Linked DNA regions of Homo sapiens: all the other regions are linked to region 3. The links are contacts of gene promoters, found by promoter capture Hi-C in blood cells and fetal thymus (Javierre and others, 2016). All regions are on one chromosome and are shown on one strand. The core of a region is centred on a gene start or on the middle of the fragment in contact, and the rest is flanking DNA. Distances in the headings are between cores, read along the strand shown. Region 1 overlaps ZNF268 (zinc finger protein 268). Region 2 has its middle 10 kb from the start of ZNF268. Region 3 holds the start of ZNF891 (zinc finger protein 891).

The links. The method cuts DNA at HindIII sites, captures the fragments that hold promoters and counts their contacts. A CHiCAGO score of 5 or more calls a contact.
Region 1: a fragment that was not itself captured here is called in contact with the fragment with the promoter of ZNF891 in region 3 in 6 of 17 cell types (naive CD8 T cells, total CD4 T cells, naive CD4 T cells and 3 more); the score reaches 7.0 in naive CD8 T cells.
Region 2: a contact is called between a fragment that was not itself captured here and the fragment with the promoter of ZNF891 in region 3, in 1 of 17 cell types (erythroblasts). The highest score is 5.6, in erythroblasts.

Annotation. Positions count from the first base shown.
Region 1 is chr12:133,191,672-133,195,375 of GRCh38, reverse strand. ZNF268 (zinc finger protein 268) reads right to left here. Exons shown (of 6, transcript NM_003415.3): 5 at 3,373-3,468. Among named protein-coding and RNA genes, the nearest start is that of ZNF268, 12 kb to the right of the region's middle. The HindIII fragment of the contact is 4,524 bases long and covers 8-3,704 here.
Region 2 is chr12:133,169,418-133,172,929 of GRCh38, reverse strand. No RefSeq gene overlaps it. Among named protein-coding and RNA genes, the nearest start is that of ZNF268, 10 kb to the left of the region's middle. The HindIII fragment of the contact is 7,086 bases long and covers 1-3,512 here.
Region 3 is chr12:133,128,846-133,132,661 of GRCh38, reverse strand. ZNF891 (zinc finger protein 891) reads left to right here and starts at 2,388. Exons shown (of 2, transcript NM_001277291.2): 1 at 2,388-2,435. ZNF10 (zinc finger protein 10) reads right to left here and starts at 2,035. Exons shown (of 5, transcript NM_015394.5): 1 at 1,908-2,035. RefSeq lists enhancers at 401-570, 1,653-1,932 and silencers at 1,983-2,222, 2,593-2,772. The HindIII fragment of the contact is 7,004 bases long and covers 1-3,000 here.

The sequences.
Region 1 (3,704 bases), core at 1,020-3,519, 63 kb before region 3:
TTAAGCTTGAAGATTATTTAAACATGATTCGAGACCATATTAAATATGGTTCCTGGCTGTGGTCCAAAGGCAATCACTGGGAACCCAAATATACACCAAGAGAATTGAGATTCTGAAGCTACAGAAAAGCCATTTCCCCAACGACCATCTCGAGTTTAATCACAGATGATGACGGAAAAGGAAATTATGCTTGGAGAGCAGAAACAAAGGTTCACCAGGTAACTTATTTCACTGCCACAGAAAGAAATTGTGACAAGGCCAACAGTGTAAACCAGTGGCTACCATGTGGTGTTCACTGCTGCTGCCCTCCTGGAACTGGGGGACCCTAGACTTGTCTCTATCCCTCTACATTTGGATGGCTGGATGTGTTTAATTTATCTTTAATTATAGGTCTATAGACCATAAAGAACTACTCCCCACTCTGAATGGGAACAGGATCCTAGACTTGTATTAATGTAGTACAAGAACCAACATATGGGTTGCAGCAAATATCTGAAGATGGATGGCTGGGAAGAAGGGTGTGACAGGTGCTGCCTGGCCAAGGAAGGTGAAGGCAGACAGTGCTGCTTACCCAGTGGTTCTTCTGCCCTGTTCCTGGCTGGCAGTAACCTGATTTTTTTCCACCCCCATCTAGGTGATGTGCTTCAGTCAGGGAAGTGAAGACCCATTTCTATCCCCAGTCCCGCTTCCAAAAGGTAAAGCATAATTTATCTGAGCCAACGGAGATAGCCCCATTTCCCTTTCCAGAGCCTCCCTCAGACAGGGGCATGTGACAAAAATTTAGCCTGTTGAACATGATCAGTCTGCTTGGGACTTCCTGGGATGAGTTTTCCTGTCTGACAGACTCGTGTGTGAAGAAACAGCCCTTTTTATTTCATTGGCCACTGGTATATCCACAGGCATCAACTAGAACTGCAAGAGCCATCTGAGGGCCATTAAAGAAGGTAACCTAAGGAAAATGTCAACATACCTAGATGGGCCCTTGGCGATTGAGTGAGTCAATCACTTAGTTGATCCTGGAGCTGCCCCACTTCAGGACCTTTTGTGATGTGTAATAATAAATCACTTCTGCTTAAATTAGTTGGTCTGGGATTGACCAACAACTGCAGCTGAAACAATCCTAGTAATGCAAGGACTAACTGTTGATTTATGCTGTCATGCTAGTGATAGAATAAATGGGGTATTCAGGGAAATATATCTGACAGTAACATCGAAGATGAATTAATATAAAAAGAGTACAATGAATAAATTTAGCTAAATACAACAATCCAGACATGACAATACTGGCCTCGTTTTGAGTGGGAATTGAGACGATGAGGGTTTTAAAAGACCTCTTTTTAAAGGAACAAAATGCTAACAACACTGTACCAAAATTAGTAAGGGAGCCCTGCACAGAAAGGAAATTCAAGCTGACTTCCCCAGTGTTAGGAAAAAAAACTTAGAATTTAAAAAACAGGATAAACAAAGAGAAGAAAGATGAAAAGAAGGTGGTATGTAGGTGGAGCAGTGGGAGAGACGATTCCAGTTTCTGAAAACGAGGCCAGGGAGTGGTATGAGGGAGATGCCAGTGAATCAATCAAAACCAGGACCAAAGGGCAGATAAAAGATCAGTATGGCTATCAATTACCAGTAGAGGAAAAGAGCTTCAATCTTCCGAATGGAAGTTATTAAGGTTTGAATGTGTCCCCTCTAAAACTCATGTTGAAACTTACTCCCCATTGTGGTGGTATTAAGAGAAGATTAAGTTGTGCCCTCATGAATGGATTAGTCGTTTCTAAAAGGGCTTGAGGGAATGATCTTAGGCCTTTTTTGCCCCTCTTTCTGTCCCACAGTGTTCCTCACCTCCAGAGGATGCAGCAACAAGGCGTCATCTTGGAAGCACAGAGCAGGCCCTCACCAGACACCAAACCTGCCAGCACCTTGGCTTTGGACTTTCCAGCCTTCAAAACTGTGAGAAATAAATTTCTGTGCTTTATAAAATTACCTAGTCTATAGTATTTTATTACAGCAACACAAATAGACTGAGACAGAAGTCTTCTTTTTTTGAGATGAGATCTCACTATCACCCAGGCCAGAGTCTAGTGGCACAACCATAGTTCACTGCAGCATCAAATTCATGGGCTCAAGCAATCCTCCCACCTCAGCCTCCCAAGGAGCTGGGACAACAGGTGCACACCACCATGCTCAGCTAATGCGTAAGTCTTTTAAAAGTTACACTATATGAGGGAAATGAAGAATAAAGACCCCTTGGATTCAGAAGAGCAAGAGAAGCCCAGTGGAACATGAAGGGAAAAAGTGCTCGGTCATGCAGCAGAAGAGCAGGATCAACAGGTGTCACTGCAGGATCATGGACACTATCACATGACAAAGGAATGTGCTCAGAAGGTATAGAGTGATAATGTTAAAGCCATTAGCAAGGCCAGGCATGGTGCCTGACACCTGTAATCCTAGCACTTTGGGAGGCCGAGGTGGGCGGATCACAAAGTCAGGAGATCGAGACCATCCTGTCTAATGTGGTGAAACCCTGTATCTACAAAAAATACAAGAAATTAGCCGGGCGTGGTGGCAGGTGCCTGTAGTCCCAGCTACTTGGAAGGCTGAAGCAGGAGACCCGGGAGGCAGAGCTTGCAGTGAGCCGAGATTGCACCCCTGCACTCCAGCCTGGGCGACAGAATGAGACTCCGTCTCAAAAAAAAAAATCCATTAGCATAGAGAAGCACAAAAGGGGTAGAATCTACTAACAGGTTTCAAAAAGAAGGAAGATGGGACTGTGGTTGTTGAATTTATGTGTAAGGGATTTAAATGTAATTTTCAAAATGTAGAAAGGAAAGGGAAGGATCATGAGAGTCACATCAAGTGAAGGAAAGAGGAAAGGCTTGCTAAAATGCACAATGAAATGAGTCTATCACCAAGATAGAGTAAGGAGGGAAATAAGGGTGCCAACGAGAAGATTAAGAGTGGATGGTAAGGCCGGGCACGCTGGCTCACGCCTGTAATCCCAGCACTTTAGGAGACTAAGGCAGGCGGATCACCTGAGGTCAGGAGTTCGAGACTAGACTGGCCAACACGGCAAAACCCCATCTCTACTAAAAATACAAAAATTGGCCGGGCATGGTGGCGCACAACTGTAACCCCAGCTACTCAGGAGGCTGACACGGAAGAATTGCTTGAACCCAGGAGGCAGAGGATGCAGCGAGCCGAGATCACGCCACTGCACCCCAGCCTGGGCAACAAAGTGAAACTCTGTCTCAAAAAAAAAAAAAAAAAAGTGCATGGTAATACACGAGGCAAAGTACAAACAAGAGGAGCACATCACATTGGAATTCATGCTAATTCTAAATAAAGAAGAAAAGATTTGTCTCCATCACTCACTTGGACAGGTCTGATTTGGAACTTGGGCCTGCACCATACACAGCTCTTCTCCTTGTTCCAACTTGAAGATGATATCAGGTTTGGTGTGTTGGTACCCTATAAATAGAAAAATCACAGACAACCTGGAACAAACAGCTTGAGATTCAGAGATTCTGAAGAACGGGAAAGATTTGGTTTGGAGGTAGCATGATGAAGCTGCCTTTTTGCAATTTGGCAAAGTAAAGACCATTCAACTGGCATACTCTGCTGCCAATAGGGAACTAAGAAAATCTGGCCTTAAAATCTAAGTCCAAAATCACTAAGTATTTCATAGAAGCCCTCCAGTTTTCAGC
Region 2 (3,512 bases), core at 639-3,138, 41 kb before region 3:
GGGCTTGTGGGGCCATCCTCAGGCCCCTAGTGAAATGCCCAGCTTAGGGGCAAGTGCTCCTGTGTCAGGGGCTCAGCATGGAGAGAGTAGGGCAGTCTCAGCACTGCAGCCTTGGCAGGCAGGAGTGGGGCCTGCTTCCCTCTCACATCCCAGTCCCAGTAAGGCTCACTCCCTAACCCAGACTGTGTCCGCCAATCTGCATATTTATTCAGTCACTGCAGTTTCCTTCTATTCTGCAATGCAGCCCCAGGCAATAGGAGTCATTGCCTGGCTCAATACCATGCCTCCCCAGAAGTTCTCCCCCTGCTCCAGTCAGAAGGTGGGGACAGCCCAGTTCAAGTGCCAGCAGCTGGAGCACACACCAGACTTGATTCTCCATTCTGGCTGTAGGAGTCCCTCACCAACTTGAGCCCCAGTTCCCTGAGTCCCAGCATGAGTCTCTAACACAGTCAACTGATGCCACTGCTAGCTCCCTGGACTCAGTACAGCTTTATAAGAGCTAGGATTGAGAATAACATCCTATTATTGTAGACGCCCAGGTCTAGAGGAGTTCATGGGATACTTCCCAAAGCAGCTCTTCCTCACAGTCTACTGACTGCTCCCAAGTTAGATCCAGGGCTCAGGAGGATCAAGGTGCTCTCCTGTGGCCTGGATTGCACAATTCCCTAGAGGGAAAATGAACCACAGAAAGGCACTCAGTTACCCTCTCCCATATCAGGGATTCACTCCCAGTTTTTGGCCAATTGCAGCCCTGCAGGCTGCCTGCCCTCCTTCTCTTCCCCAGATTCTGGAGATTCCCTTTGCTTTTCTTTTGAACTCCTATGTTCCCTCTTGGATAATATGTTCAAAGTGTGATTGCCCAGACACTAGTTTGGTTCATAGAAGTGGATAAGGTGAACTGAAAAAGCCTCTAGTCAGCCATCTTGGGGAAAGAAAACCAAAATTGTATTTTTCTCTTGAAAATTCTACTTTTATATTGACCAATAAATAAATAAATAATAAAACCCTGTCATTTGCCTTCCTTTAAGTGACAAGTTTACTTGGTTGATTTTTGAGAGAATACCTGCAAAGGTTTCTCAGTCCTTCTTTAATGCAAAGTTCAGCTCCCAATGTAAAGTTCACCTCTCAATGTAAATAATCACACAAATGCTTTTTCTTGAGACAACTGTGGAACTTCAGTATACAGCACAGAACGTTCATTGCACAGATATTAAAAAGAGATGTATTTAGGCCAGGCGTGGTGGCTCACGCCTGTAATCCCAGCACTTAAGAACGCCGAGGCAGGCAGATCATGAGGTCAGGAGTTTGAGACCATCCTGGCTAACACGGTGAAACCCCGTCTCTACTAAAAATACAAAAAAATTAGCTGGGCGTGGTGGCGGGCGCCTGTAGTTCCAGCTACTCGGGAGGCTGAGGCAGGAGAATGGTGTGAACCCAGGAGGCAGAGCTTGCAGTGAGCCGAGATCGCGCCACTGCACTCCAGCCTGTGCGACAGAGCGAGACTCCATCTCAAAAAAAAAAGAGATGTATTTAAGAGTTGATATTTAATAAAATGACTCTTTACTGCTTTATCAAAGACATCCTAAAGTTAAATTGACTTCCTTTAAAAAATACAAATCTGGGTGGAGAGGCTCATCTCTGTAATCCCAGCTACTTGGGAGGCTGAGGTGGGAGGATCACATGAGGCCAGCAGTATGAGACCAGCCTGGATAACATAGCGAGACCCCATCTCTAAATAAAATAAAATTACCCAGGTACGGTGGTGAACACCTACAGTTCTAGCTACTCAGGAGACTGAGGCAGGAAGACTGCTTGAGCCCAGGAGTTTGAGGCGGCAGTGAGCTATGATCATGCTACTGCACTCCAACCTAGGCAACAGAGCTAGACCCTGTCTCAAACAAACAAACAAAACTATGAACGTGTAGTGATGAAGAATACAATGGCTGCTAATAAATATCTTTTTTTGCTATTACCTTGATTGATGCTGAAGTGCCAGCAGTTTTACCCACCATCGTTTTGTACCATCAGTGCAAATTTCAACACAGTAGATAACCGCTTAAAATTGGAAATATCAGTGTTTACTGTAAAATTATTTAAACTCTTCTGTAAGTTTGAAATTTTTCATAAGAAAATATTAGGGGAAAAGTCATTATGGAAAAGATAAACTTTTCAATAAACTGTATAGGAACAACAAGGTAGCTATATAATAATATAAATAAAGATGGCTGTCTCACAATATATTTAAAATAAATCTCAGGTAGATTAAGTACGTCAACTAGGCTGGGTGTGGTGGCTAATGCCACCAAAGCACTTTGGACAATTTGAGAAGACCTCATCTCTAAAAAAAATTTGTTTAAATTAGCTGGGGTGGGGGTGCATACCCGTAGTCCCAGCTACTCAGGAGGCTGAGGCAGGAGGATCCTTTGAGCCAGGAGTTTGAGGCTGCAGTGAGCTATGATCATGCCACAGTACTCCAGCCTGGGTGTCTCTTTAAAAAAAAGTATGTCAGGCTTTAAAAAAAATCAGGCTTTAAAAAATTTTATATATTATATTATATTTTATTTTTATTTTTAGGAACATGATCTTGCTCTGTTGCCCCAGATGAAGTGCAGTGGTATAATCATAGCTCAAGGTAACCTCAAACTCCTGGGCTCAAGTGATCCTCTCACCTCAGCCTCCCAAGTAACTAAGACTACAGGTATGCACCACCATGCCTGACTTTTTTTTTTTTTTTTGGAGAGATACAGTCTCACCACGTTGCCAAGGATGGTCTCAAACTCCTGGCCTCAAGTGATCCTCCAGCCTCAGGCTCCCAAAGTGCTCTTTAGCAAAGCTCATTACCCAAGATAAGGGAAAAGATATTCAGGTATGGTGACATGCCTGTAGTCCCAGCTACTTGGGTGGCTGAGGTGGCGGAGGATTGCTTGAGCCCAGGAGTTCGAGGTTTCAGCGAGCTATGATTACACCATTGCACTCCAGCATGAGTGACAGAGTGAGACTTCCATCTCTTAAAAAAAAACAAACAGAAATGTTCACACAAAGACATGTACATAAATGTTACCAGAAGCATTATTCATAATAGCCAAAAAGTGGGAACAACCCAAATATCCAACAACTAATGTTTGAAAAACAAAATGAGACATATCTATACAATGTAACACTATTAAGCAAAAAAGGACTTAAGTACTGGTACATGCCTGAGCAAATAAACCTCAAAACATTATACTGAATGGAAGAAGCAAGTCTTATAAGACCACATATTGCATGATACTATTTACATGAAATGTTCTCAGAAGGCAAATCTGTAGAAACAGTAGCTTATTGGTTGCCTAGTCTGATTACTAATGGATATGAAGTTTTGGGGAGGGGGTATATGAAAATGTTCTAAAAATTAATTTTTTTTTGGAGACAGAATCTCACTCTGTCACCTAGGCTGGAGTGCAGTGGTGCTATCTCAGCTCACAGCAACCTCCAGCTCCCAGGTTCAAGCGATTCTCCTGCCTCAGCCTCCT
Region 3 (3,816 bases), core at 1,139-3,638:
TCATAGCCAGAAGAATTAAAAGCCCTGGCTGACATGAGACATGCTAGAAAGAGTACTGCTGATGAAAGTAAAAGAGTCTCTTGTAGGCACAACAGAGATATTAACAATAAGAAATTTCTTTTTCCTTAAAATACTTTTTTTTTGAGACGGAGTTTCGCTCTTGTTGCTCTTGTTAATTTAAGATGTGTATCTCAAATCTCTGCCCTTGTGACTGGCATATGTTAATTAGCTGGGCATGGTGGCTGGCGCCTGTAATCCCAGCTACTAGGGAGGTTGAGGCAGGAGAATTGCTTGAACCCAGGAGGCAGAGGTTGCAGTGAGCCAAGATCGAGCCATTGCACTCCAGCATGGGCAACAAGAACAAAACTCTATCTCAAAAAAAAAAAAAAAAATTCTCAGATTTTCTTGACAATTGAATATAATCTATAAACAGAACTGTTTTTATTCTTACTCATCCTTTATTCTTCTAGTAAGAATTGCCTAGTAAGGTTTTGAAGTTTTTCTCATATAGTTCACATATATTTCTAGCTAAAATTATTTTCTTCCTATTGTGAAGACTTTTTAAAAATAAAAGTATGTGCTAACTTGTTGAGGACGGCAATCAATCTATTAGCTTATATATTTCCTTTTCAGTCACTTTACTACAAATTATTGATAGTAATTGAATCTCTTCTCATTTTGGGGACTTAATTAGTTAATTAATTAACAAGGATAATTTTGTAATCTCTTTTCCAGAAGGTAAGCCTCATATCTACTTAAATATTGTCCTAAGTAGAATTTCCAGACAGTGCTTATATAAAATACTGATAAGCAGAAATTCTCATTTAATTTATGATGTGTATCTCAAATCTCTGCCCTTGTGACTAGCATATACTAAGAGCTAAAGAAATGCATGCTGAGAGAAGTAATCAAAAAACAAATGTAACTTTCAAAAAGAGGCAGGAGCGTGTGCAACTTACCATCCAAGAGGCTTTGGAAGATGGGGGACAATTTTAGTAAAACAGAAGAGATTAGTTATGTCACAAGAGAAAAGTTAGTGTGGAGGTAATTTTCAAAAGGGTAGGGAGGATTTGTGCTATCCAGTTCTCGGAGACCTAACTGCAGTCATTTCTAACCTAATAACACTTGTTGGCTGGCATTCTGGGTGACATCCTGCCTTCCCTTTTACTTTTTTTTTTTTAATTAACAGTATCTTTCTGCAATTAATGTATAGCTGGAATTGAAATTGTTCACCTTCTGCATACACTTTGGGTGGGATCTACGTACGAAATCTTGATGTTAACCTTATCTTTGACACTCATATTATGTGTTAGATGGCGTATATATATCTAGTGTCAAGGGAAAATAAAAATATAGTAATTAAACTTATGATCTGTCTCTGAAAATAAAAAAAATAGATTAACCACACAAACACGCCTTCAGTTAATCTATCTGATTAAAAAACAAAACAAAGATGAGGAAGCTAAGAGCTAGAGATGCAGGATTTGTTTTTAAAAGACCACACACGAATCGGCGTCACTATTTCAACAAATACTAGAAAGGCCATATGCAAAATTTTAAACATCTATCCCAGCTGGGGGGAAAAATGGAAGTTAGACTAGAAGAAACCTTATTTTGTATTACTGAAAATATCTGGTTCAAACTTACCACCACCGCCGCCCACTCTGCGTCAATCTCCAGGTGCAGCCGTTATTCTCCACAGAACAAGAACGTCCGCCGTGAACGCCGGGGCCGCGCGAGGGACAGAAAGTGACTGAGGCAAGGGGTGACGATCACCGTTAAATTTTTTCATTGACGAAATTACCGTCTACCTAGAAATACGAAGCTAATACACTGCTACATTACTAAAGGGCTCAACACGCGCCTGATGACGATGCAAACACAAAATTCAGCACTTTCGTATATACCTGCAATAAGCAACTAGAAGGTTCGATGGGAGAAAGCGATCCCGTCACAAAGGCAGCAGCAACAGCAAAACAGAGAACGCGACTCCATTCACCAGCGGAGCGCGAAGAGCGGCGTCAGAGGTGAGTCTGAGGCCGGCTCGGCACGGCGGCGCCACCTCCCCGTGGCCTGACGTCACGCACGCGCACGCGCCCCGCCCCCATTGGTCCTACGCCCGCCCCTGCTGCGAACGCACGCACACGCACCCACAACACACACCGTTACGCACGCGCCCCAGCCTGGCGTTCAGGCCACGCTCCGCCCCCAGCCCGTCAGCCGCGCGCCCCGGGACCCTAGAGCCGGCGATTCGTCGCCGGCGCCGCAGCCGCCACTCTGTGCCGGACCCTGCGGGCCTTCGGCCCAGAGCGCGTCCGTGACGCACAGACCAGGCCCCTCTGCGGGGCGGCGCAGGAGCTCCTGGGAAACGTAGTTCGGCCTCGCGTCCCCCTCGGGCGGGACCGCGGACGCCTGGAGGCAGGCACTGAGGACGGGTGAGCATGCGGGCCTGTGGCTCGTTCACCCGGGACAAGTCCCTCGTGGGATCAGCCTGGCCCGCTGAGTTCTCCTGCGTGCAGGGATCGCCTCACGGGAGTCTGAGCAGCAGGGAGCCTGCCCGGGAGGCGGCGGTGGGAGAGGCCCTTGAGGGAGGAGGGGCTACTTACCGGGTGCGAGTGGAGCGCGGGGAGCGAGTGGGGACCAGGGGCGCGCGGGGCGGAGGGGTCCCGGGCTGGCTGCGGGTGCCACGCAGGGAGCGCTGGGGGGCCGGGGATGCGCGTTTGCCTCCTTCTCTAAGCAACACGGGAGGGCTAAAGGGTGCACGCCTCTGTCCAGCAGCCTCTCTTGAATCTCTAAACCTAGTAATGAGTTGAATCACAGCCATCGTTTTTTTCACCTATTGCCTTATACTGTGGTTGAATGCGATATGGTTTTATTTCTTTAATACTCTGGTGTATTCAATTGGCTGTTTCCCTTTGACTTCACCTATGCTCACAAGATTGTGTTTTAATCTTTTTGTGTACTATCCTTGCCCGTTATACTAACAAGATTTTACAAGCTTCATGAATAATTTGGACAGCACAGTCTCTCTTCTATTCTGTAAAACAGGTCACCACCCCTCACCGCCCCCCGCCCGCCTCCAAAAGTTTGGTGCTATTTGGTCTTAAAATATTTAGTACGCATTTAACTTCTGACTCAATTTTTTTTTTTTTTTTTTTTGAGACAGAGTTTCGCTCTTTGTTGCCCAGGCTGGAGTGCAATGGCGCCATCTTGGCTCACAGCAACCTCCGCCTCCCGGGTTCAAGTGATTCTTCTGCCTCAGTCTTGTGAGTTGCCGGGATTACAGACATGAGCCACCACGCCCAGCTAATTCTGTATTTTTAGTGGAGATGGGGTTTCTCCATGTTGGTCAGGCTGGTCTGGAACTCCCGACCTCAGGTGATCAGCCTGCCTCGGCCTCCCAAAGCGCTGAGATTACAAGCGTGAGCCACCGCACCCGGCCCTGACTCAATTTTTTAAAAAGTCTCATTGATTAGGTTTTTTAGTTCGTATTCTGTTTTAGATACCTTTCCTAGATAATTGTTTTTAATCTAATTTTTCAAATTTATTGGCATAAAATTGCCCATGCTATTTTATCACTGTAAGTAATTTCTATGGTGATTTTTAAAATCACCACTTTTTAATATTTTACTGCTGTAATTGTTATTTTTTTCTTTTTTGAACCTAATTATCTAGGCCTTTTTTTCTTGATTACTCCTATAAGGTATATGTGTACATAGTCTTTTCAAAAATGTAGATTTGGTTTTGGTTTTTTTGTTGTTTTGTTTTGGTCTTTTTTGGGGAGGGGGGTCCTATTACAGTAAGTTTTGCTCTTAA